Regions from separate parts of the Homo sapiens genome. Here regions 1 and 3 are each linked to region 2. The links are contacts of gene promoters, found by promoter capture Hi-C in human tissues and cell types (Jung and others, 2019). All regions are on one chromosome and are shown on one strand. Each heading gives the region's core, a stretch centred on a gene start or on the middle of the fragment in contact. The rest is flanking DNA. Distances are from core to core; before and after follow the strand shown. Region 1 overlaps LSM1 (LSM1 homolog, mRNA degradation associated). Region 2 holds the start of ADRB3 (adrenoceptor beta 3). Region 3 overlaps ADGRA2 (adhesion G protein-coupled receptor A2).

Region 1 (3,201 bases), core at 261-2,760, 210 kb after region 2:
CAGGGATCACCACATTGGCCAGGCTGGTCTTGAACTCCTGGCCTTGTGATCCGCCCACCTCGGCCTTCCAAAGTGCTGGGATTACAGGCGTGAGCCACAGTGCCGGGCCCCCAAGCTTTCTAATTCTGGGGAAGGCTAAAATTTCAAATAATCTTCTCCTATTTCATTGAGTAAGACGTACCAGTTAGGAGATGTCTGGGATTATGTTGGGCTAATACATGAATGACAGCAGAAATAAGAGAAATAAATTCCTTTATCAGTTAATTGCTAATACCAAAAAAAACCATAGGAAAATATAAATGAATAAGGAACTTGGAAAACTTGGGCCTAAACAACCACAGAGATCAAAACTTTTGTTTTCTGGAAAGAAACAGCTTTTCTTTTTGTGTGGGTGTGTATGTGATGATCTGCTGAAGATTCAACTTTCTTTTAGTAATTAGGATTCATTTGACCCAACGCAGGTATCCATGGGTTATGATACAGCAAAAACCTATTTTTTCACCTTGACAGATAACTATATTTGTAATCTAAAAGTCAACTTAATAGCCACTACCCTTCCCTCAAAGTACTCTGATGAATCTGACTTAAGAATCAGGACTCCAATTTGTTAACAATAATTATTTTTCCTCTTTCAATTAGTACTACTTGTCCTATTTGAAGTAAAGGAGAAATCTATGTTCATATCTTCCATAATCCTTTTAAGTGTTTTAATTACGTTTCTTCCTCATGCTCAAATCCAGTGATTTCGCAGATATCCAATAAATGTTAGCATGAACATGAAGTTCCTTGAAACAGAAGGAAACATAATCTTTTAACTTAAGAAAAATGCAGGATGCGAAACAAAGACAGAGGCCTCTTATTCCAATGTATCCCTATATGTAAAGTATTAAGCTTAATGTTGGGGTCCTTAAAATAAAGGAAATGCCTTCTACCCAATTTTCATTGGCTAGGGAGGGATTACCTTCACTTCCGGAACTGCTTTGAAGTCATTTTACCCTGCCAATGTAGAAATAAGCAGCCTTGGGCCGGGCACAATGGCTCGCGCCTATAATCTCAGCACTATGGGAGCTAAGACCAGCCTTCCAGCTGTCCCCACTGATGCACCAGACATGTGAGTGAAGCTCCTTCAAACCAGCTGACTCACCTTCTAGACACCAAGGGACTGTCCTAAAACCATGAGGAGCAGAACAACTGCCCAGCTCAGCTGGGTGGGTGGATCACCTAAGGTCAGGAGTTTGAAACCAGCCTGGCCAACATGGCGAAACCCCGTCTCTACTAAAAATACAAAAATTAGCTGGGGGTGGTGGCTGGAGCCTATAATCTCAGCTACTTGGGAGGCTGAGGCACAAGAATCACTTGAACCCAAGAGGCGGAGGTTGCAGTGAGCCAAGATTGTGCCACTGCACTCCAGCCTGGGTGACCGAGAGCGCGTCTAAACAAAAAACAAAACAAAACAAAACAAGCCTCTTCGGTGGACTGAGTTTATTTCTATCATTTGGCTCCCCCTACTGGGGATTCTACTGAAAGCCAGTTTTAGAAACGAGCTTGGAAATATATATAAGCTTTGAACCACCTAATCTGAATGTATAGAAAACAATGATGTACTCACTAAAATCAGTCCTACTAGGTCACACACGTGAAAAAGTTGCAGATAAATTTCAATATTAAATAACAAAAAATGCAATGGGCTGCTGTTATTATCCAGAGTATAAGAGATGTCCATAAATTAATACATACCAAATTGATCAATGCTTCTTAAAAAGCCTATAAGTGTCCTTCCATCTCGAAGCAGAACCAAGTGCTTTTCTGGGGAGAGAGGAAAAAATCTTTTAAATGAAAACTGACAAGTTCAGCGAGTATTTAGGATAATAATTAACAGTTTAAGCTGTACCACTTCCTCGGCCAATGCATTTAATGTGAAGTTCAAGTTCATTGGAAAACTGAAAAAAGCAGCACAGCAACGCGGATTTAGATAACATCAGTAGTGAAAAGAATCAGAGCAGTGTGGCAGAGTGGGAAAAGGACAGGGCGTGGCACCAGGAAGCCTGACTAGCTGGCTCTAGACCCTTATGTTGGTTTTTTTTTTTTCCTTTTTTCTTTTTTTTTTTTTTTGAGACAGAGTCTCACTCTGTCACCCAGGCTGCAGTGCAGTGGCACAATCTCGGCTTACTACAACCTCTGCCTCCCAGGTTCAAGCGATCCTCCTGCATCGGCCTCCTTAGTAGCTGGGACTACAGGAGTTTGCCACCATGCCTGGCTAATTTTCATATTTTTAGTAGAGATGGTGTATCACCATGTTAGCTAGGCTGGTCTCAAACTCCTGACTTCAGATGATCCATCCACCTCCACCTCCCAAAGTGCTGGGATTACAGGCGTGAACCATGGCGCCTAGCCAAAGACCCTTATGTTTGACACTTAAACCATCTCATGTCATGTCAGTTTTTATATCTGTAAATTGACAAATTTAATCTAGATGACTATTATCTTATTTGTAGAATTATTTTGTCCTCAAAAGATGAGCTTCTATCTCACATTTTGTTTGTAACCATAGAAGGCTTTAAATAAAAACACAATGCTTCAGGCATTTAAAATGAAGACTAATAATAAGCTAGAGCAGAAATTCAATGTTTACTGAGGGGGCATGTGCTGTTCTGGGGTCTAGACATACAGTAGAGAATGAGACTTAGAAAGTCACCAACCTTATGAATTTATATTCATGTTGGAGGAGGACAAATAAATAAGAAAATAACCTATTGTGATTAGGACAATGGAATAATAAACTAGCAAGGCAGTATGATGAAGGGAGAGAAGTGGTTACAGAAGGAAGGGTGGCAAGGGAAAGCCTCTCTGAAGAGGTGACTTTGAGCTGACACTGAAGAATGAAAATAAGCCAGTTACTAGCGCACCCAGCAAAATTTCTTTCATTCCATGCCTAAAGTACTTTCTAGATGCAGAACAGAGGAAAAACACAGTGACTCTGCCCTGAAGGAATTTATACTCTTCCTTGCGCTATAAATAAGTACCACAGAAAGCAAATCTTAATTATATGAGACTACAGAGAGAGAAACTGTATTTCTGAAGGAGGTATCAGAGTTGGACCTTAAAAGGTAGATAATTTTAGGGCACAAGAAGAGTGATAGGAAGGGGGCGGGGGGGGAGAAGGAAATCTGTAAATTAAAGAGGAGGAAAAAAGGGCTATAC
Region 2 (3,108 bases), core at 380-2,879:
GACCAGGCGAGGCGAGAGTCCTCGGGACACCGCAGCGCTTTCCGGTGGCGCACCTTGGGTCCTTGGGTGAGGAACGACGGCCCGCTCGCCCTCCTTTGCTTCTACCCTAGTGACTGGATCCGGAAAGAAAAGGACCCTGGGTCCCATTTTGGTTCGCTACTCCTCGTTCCCTTTTCTCTCCAAGCAAAGCCATCCCACCTTCTCTTAATAAACTCCACACTCAAAAAGTTGACCCACGGACACATCGCATGCTTCCCGACCCTGAGCCGCCGGTCCCTCTGCCCCGGTTACCTACCCGTCGAGCCGTTGGCAAAGCCTGGGCTGCGCTGGGCTGCTCCGGGCCGCAGGAACGCCCGAGGGGAAGAGGGCCGGGCGGGCGGCGGCGCAGGGCTCCGGAGGCAGGCGACGGCCGCAGCGGCACAGAAGACGGCGGAAGGCGCTGCGAAAGTCCGGGCTGCGGCAGTAGATGAGCGGGTTGAAGGCAGAATTGGCATAACCTAGCCAGTTCAGGGCAAGGAAAGCCGGGCCCGGGACTAGAGAGGGGCCCCCCAGGGCGCGCAGCACGTTGGCCAGAAAGAAGGGCAACCAGCAGAGAGTGAAGGTGCCCATGATGAGACCCAAGGTGCACAGGGCCCGGTGTTCCCGGAGAGGCAGGAGGCGCGCGGGCCGCCGGCCGCAGGCGGGCACCCCTTCGGGCGGAGCGCACGTCCCCACCGGGGCCGGGGCCAGAGAGCGCGACGGCGCCGGCGGAGACTCCTCGGGCGGAAAGCGGCCCAGCTCCCCGCGCAGCAAGCGCAGCTGGCGCGTAGCCACCACGAAAACCCGCGCGTAGACGAAGAGCATCACGAGAAGAGGAAGGTAGAAGGAGACGGAGGAGGACAGCAGCACGTAGGGCATGTTGGAGGCGAAGGCACAGCAGCGCGGGTTGGAGTGGCAGCGCTGCGCCTCGGCGTCGGCCCCTACGCGCCACCACTGGCTCATGATGGGCGCAAACGACACCGCGGCCGACACGACCCACACCAGGACCACAGCTGTCCGGGCGCAGCGCTTGGTGACCAGTGCGCCGTAACGCAGCGGGTTGGTCACAGCCAGGTAGCGGTCCACGGCCAGGGCGCACAGGGTTTCGATGCTGGCGGTCACACACAGCACGTCCACCGAGGTCCACAGCTCGCAGCCAGTGGCGCCCAACGGCCAGTGGCCAGTCAGCGCCAAGGTGGCCGCCGGCGGCACCACCAGGAGTCCCATCACCAGGTCGGCTGCGGCCAGCGAAGTCACGAACACGTTGGTCATGGTCTGGAGTCTCGGAGTCCAGGCGATGGCCACGATGACCAGCAGGTTGCCTCCCACGGTGGCCAGCACCGCCAGCGCCAGCAGGGCCCCGGCTAGGGCCGCCTCCCACGGAACCCCTGGCAGCCCACTGGTGTTGGCGGTATTGGGCGCCAGGGTGGGGAGGTCCGGCCATGGGGCAAGAGAGCTGTTCTCGTGAGGCCACGGAGCCATCCCCGGGTCGCGCGTGGGGCGGTAGGGAAAGAAGGAAGGAGGGGGTCTCCCAAATCACCTGGCTCAGGGGAGGGGACAGCAAGGCATGAGAGCGACTTCCCCAGCCTGGGCCATCTTCTCTAGCTGTCCCAGCCAGAGCGCTCAGCCTCCCCCCACCCCAACTCCCTCGGTGCCACCGCTCTTGGGGGAGGAGTAGCGACGCTTAAAGGGGCAGCTGCCTATAGTCTGGAGGGGCCTCTGGAGCCGAATTGGAGAGTGGGGAGGATGGCCAATGGGATGCTCCACGTTTCCTTTAGCTAAATCTGGAGGAAGGGACACCGTGGTTCCTCTGCCACCATCTGTCCACCCCTGCCGTGGCCAGGCTCCTGGACTCAGCATAGCACTCCCTGGGCACTGGCTTCCTGGAGCCCTGCACCTCCTTTCCCAGAAGTTCCCACAGCAAGGCAGGGGAAGGAGAGAGGAGAGCGCTCCCATCCCCACCCTTTATGTATCAGAGGCAAAGGTAACCCGCTGGAGTCAAGCAAAGGATTCACAGGAGCCCCGCATCCACTTGGGTGGCCTCCCCTAAGGTATTTTAAATTAAGTAATAGGGCTCAGCCAGTATCTCCTCTCCCAAGACCTCAGCTTGGTGAGATCTGTCCCCTTTCCCTTCTGTTTCAGTTACCTTCTCTTTCCTTCTAGCTTTTTGTTTTTTTTAATATTTTCAGGTACTGAGGAAATTTACCATATTTCAAGTCTCTCTCTCTCTCTATTTTTCCCAGGCTGGCTTTGAACTCCCGGGCTCAAGCCACCCTCCTGTCCCAGCCTCCTGAGTAGTTGGAATTGCAGGCGTGAACCACTAGGAGGCTCAGGAGTCTTTTTCTTTTTCTTTTCTTTTTTTTTTTTTTTTTGAGACGGCGTCTCGCTCTGTCACCCAGGCTGGAGGCTGGAGTGCAATGATGTGATGTCTGCTCACTGCAATCTCCACCTCCCGGGTTCAAGCGCTTCTCCTGCCTCAGCCTCCCAAGTAGCTGGGACTGCAGGCACCCGCCAGCATGCCCAACTAATTTTTATATTTTTAGTAGAGACGGGGTTTCACCATGTTGGCCAGGATGGTCTCGATCTCCTGACCTCGTGATCCGCCCGCCTCGGCCTCCCAAAGTGCTGGGATTACAGGCGTGAGCCATCGCGCCCGGCCAGGAGTCTTTTTCATTGCTAGCTCTGGATTTGCATTTGGATTTGGCACTATGTAGTCTGGGATGCTGAAGAATTTCAATTTCTCCATCTTCCCCACTCTGCACTGCCCCTTCCATGCACCTTTCCACCTAGAGATTTTCTAGATAGCCCCTTCTCTTAAAATCTTTCTGCTATAAAGACATATTAAAAATGGATGAATCAACAGGTGGGCGCGGTGGCTCACGCCTGTAATCCCAGCACTTTGGGAGGTCGAGGTGGGCAGATCACCTGAGGTCAGGAGTTCAAGACCAGCCTGAACAACAAGGAGAAACCCTGTCTCTACTAAAAATACAAAAAAAAAAAAAAAAAATTAGCCAGGTGTGGTGGCGCATGCCTGTAATCCCAGCTACTCAAGAGGCTGAGGCAGGAGAATCTCTTGAACCTGGGAGGCAG
Region 3 (2,902 bases), core at 285-2,784, 130 kb before region 2:
GCTGAGGTGGGAGGATTACTTGAGCCCAGGATTTGTAGGCTGCAGTGAGCTGGTTGTGATGCTGCACTCCAGCCTGGGTGACATAGCAAGAATCTGTTCCTCTAAAAAAAAAAAGAGAGAGAGGTGGCTTTGAAAAAACTGAGGATTGAAGGGGAGGACTACAGCCTGAGCAGGCCCATTGAGAGAGATGTGCAGTCCCAAGCAGAAGGCCACCATCTCAAATGGTGGGATGACAAGGTCCCTGTCCCCAGAATGCGAGGAACGTGGCATTGGAGGCCTACCTCATCAAGCCGCACAGCTACGTGGGCCTGACCTGCACAGCCTTCCAGAGGAGGGAGGGAGGGGTGCCGGGCACACGGCCAGGAAGCCCTGGCCAGAACCCCCCACCTGAGCCCGAGCCCCCAGCTGACCAGCAGCTCCGCTTCCGCTGCACCACCGGGAGGCCCAATGTTTCTCTGTCGTCCTTCCACATCAAGGTGGGCGCTGGGGGAGGGAGAGGGGGTGGGAGAAGGGAGGCACTCAGATGCAGGTGCCTGGTGGGGGCAGTGAGAGGAGGTGGGAGGAGGGGGCTGCAAGACATCAGTGCTCTAGGGGGTCCTGGTGTCTCTGAGGAGCTCCTATGTCCCCCCAGAACAGCGTGGCCCTGGCCTCCATCCAGCTGCCCCCGAGTCTATTCTCATCCCTTCCGGCTGCCCTGGCTCCCCCGGTGCCCCCAGACTGCACCCTGCAACTGCTCGTCTTCCGAAATGGCCGCCTCTTCCACAGCCACAGCAACACCTCCCGCCCTGGAGCTGCTGGGCCTGGCAAGAGGCGTGGCGTGGCCACCCCCGTCATCTTCGCAGGAACCAGTAAGGGACTGAATTCCCCGCCCCGCCCAGGGTGCCTCTCGTGTGTCCGCCCTGTTCCCCTTTATCCTGCCCTTCCCTGGCCCACAGCCCCCCAGTGCCGTAGTGGAACTGACACAGGATGTTGGGTCTCTCACCTTTTCCCAACAGGGCAGAGGGTAGAGATACCCCATAAAGAAAGGGTCTGGAGGAGAAAAGCCTCAGGAAGACATTGCCTTCTATATCCCAGATTTGTTCAATTTCAAGAGGGCTATGAGCATAGCCCCCTCCAACACACACACACACACACACACACACACACACACACACACACACACACACACACACACACCCCACAGGCCCAATGCAGACAAGTAATGCTGAATAGGTGCCTGCTAGAAACAGCACTGTCACTGGTGCTGGAAGGAATAAAAACATCTAGGCCATAGTCCCTGCTCCCAGAGGCTACCTAAGCAGTAGAGGGTGAAGTAACCTCCCAGGGCAGCCACAGGAGAGGTTCCAGGCAGCTGCTGCACAGGCAGCCCAGGTGAGAAGCATCCTGAAAAGGCAACATGGCTCCAGCTGTCATGGCGGAGGTGGGACTGACACAGATGGGCCTTGAGGGATGATCAGGACTTTCAGAGACACCAAGGAAGGGCGGAGACCAGGGCAGAGGAATAACAACATGAGCAGAGGTGTGGTGGGTGGGAGACACCGAGTGTCTGACTCGCCACCCACCTGGGGGCCTGGCACCCAGAAAGCAGATGGATCACCTGCAGTCCCCCTTTTGTCGTTCCATCTCTCCCCCGGGACCAGCGACCCCACACCTGCCTTCTTTCTGCCAGTGATTCCACTGTTACTCCCACCATCCACGCTGACACCAGCCCATCTCTGGCCCCCACACCTCCACCTTCAGTCCATCCCTCATGCCGTCACCAGATTCACCTTCTGCAAACTGCACTTTGCACGTCAGAGAGCCCCTTCAAAGTCTTGGGTTGTTTCCCATCATCAGGACGTCTGCCTCCCTCCATGAGCCCTCTAGGGTCCTAGCGATGTGGCTGTACCCCCTTTGCCCAGCCAGAAGGCACTGCCACCCCACCGTGGGTTCCATCCTGTTCCTAGCACAGACTCTTGCTGTCAGGTCTTGCATTCTGGCCAGGGACACTCACTGAGTATCTGGTATGTGCCAGACTGTGCCTGAGCTGGGACACACCTGTGCACAGACAGTTACGGCTGTGTCCTTGAGGAACACACCCTTCAGCAGAGAGGACAGGCAGTGGACAAGTCGTTGTAAGTGCAGCTCGTTGTAAGTGAGCAGCAGTGAAGAGCAGCTCGTTGTAAGTGAGAAGCAGTGAAGTGTTTTGGAGGGCACAGGGATGAGGGACCACCCAACCTAGCTGGAGGCCAGCGAGGCCTTTCCCGAAAACCACTAAGACTTAAAGGACAAGTAAGGTGGCCTGAGGAAGGTGAAAGCCCTGTGTCCGCAACCGCGTGGGCTGTGGGAGTGTGTGGGTTGAGGCGGGTGGGTGAGGGGTCTGTGGAGCCCAGGGCCTGCTCCGGGAGCCCCTCTCCCACTGGGAACGCCTCCTCCTAGTCCTCTCTCCATCCCGCCCGCCTCCCTCCTCCCTCCTCCCTTCGCCTGGCTTCTGTTCCCTCCATCTGCATTTCTGTGTTCTTGTCCCTGAGCCCCCGCCAGCCTGAGTCCTCACCATGGAGCATGACATCACTGCTCATCCAGCACTCAGGGTGGGCCACCACAGAGGGCTCACATTTTCCACCATCATCCGCACCCACCCCCTCCAGGGTCCCCCATTAGACTGAGGCTGTCCTTGGCATCTCACCGCATGCCCCCAGCCCAGCACTGTGCCCTGCCTGGCAGGTGCCTAGTACACACCCTGTCACTGCTGCTGCTGCTGAGTCCCGGCTGAGCCCACCTCCCTGACACCCTGTGTGTGTCTGTGTGGACGTCCCTCTCCCGCTGTAGGTGGCTGTGGCGTGGGAAACCTGACAGAGCCAGTGGCCGTTTCGCTGCGGCACTGGGCTGAGGGAGCCGAACCTGTGGCCGCTTGGTGGAGCCA

What was found. The method cuts DNA at HindIII sites, captures the fragments that hold promoters and counts their contacts. A contact is called where the count stands out against the background at its distance.
Region 1: a fragment that was not itself captured here is called in contact with the fragment with the promoter of ADRB3 in region 2 in 1 of the 25 tissues and cell types used here (bladder).
Region 3: a contact is called between a fragment that was not itself captured here and the fragment with the promoter of ADRB3 in region 2, in 1 of the 25 tissues and cell types used here (H1 embryonic stem cells).

What each region holds. Positions count from the first base shown.
Region 1 is chr8:38,170,228-38,173,428 of GRCh38, forward strand. LSM1 (LSM1 homolog, mRNA degradation associated) reads right to left here. Exons shown (of 4, transcript NM_014462.3): 2 at 1,738-1,806. Among named protein-coding and RNA genes, the nearest start is that of LSM1, 4.7 kb to the right of the region's middle. The HindIII fragment of the contact is 4,514 bases long and covers 1-3,201 here.
Region 2 is chr8:37,964,970-37,968,077 of GRCh38, forward strand. ADRB3 (adrenoceptor beta 3) reads right to left here and starts at 1,630. Exons shown (of 2, transcript NM_000025.3): 1 at 296-1,630. The coding sequence starts at 1,500. RefSeq lists an enhancer at 629-1,363. The HindIII fragment of the contact is 25,598 bases long and covers 1-3,108 here.
Region 3 is chr8:37,834,923-37,837,824 of GRCh38, forward strand. ADGRA2 (adhesion G protein-coupled receptor A2) reads left to right here. Exons shown (of 19, transcript NM_032777.10): 12 at 252-476; 13 at 632-848; 14 at 2,809-2,902. Among named protein-coding and RNA genes, the nearest start is that of BRF2, 13 kb to the right of the region's middle. The HindIII fragment of the contact is 5,878 bases long and covers 1-2,902 here.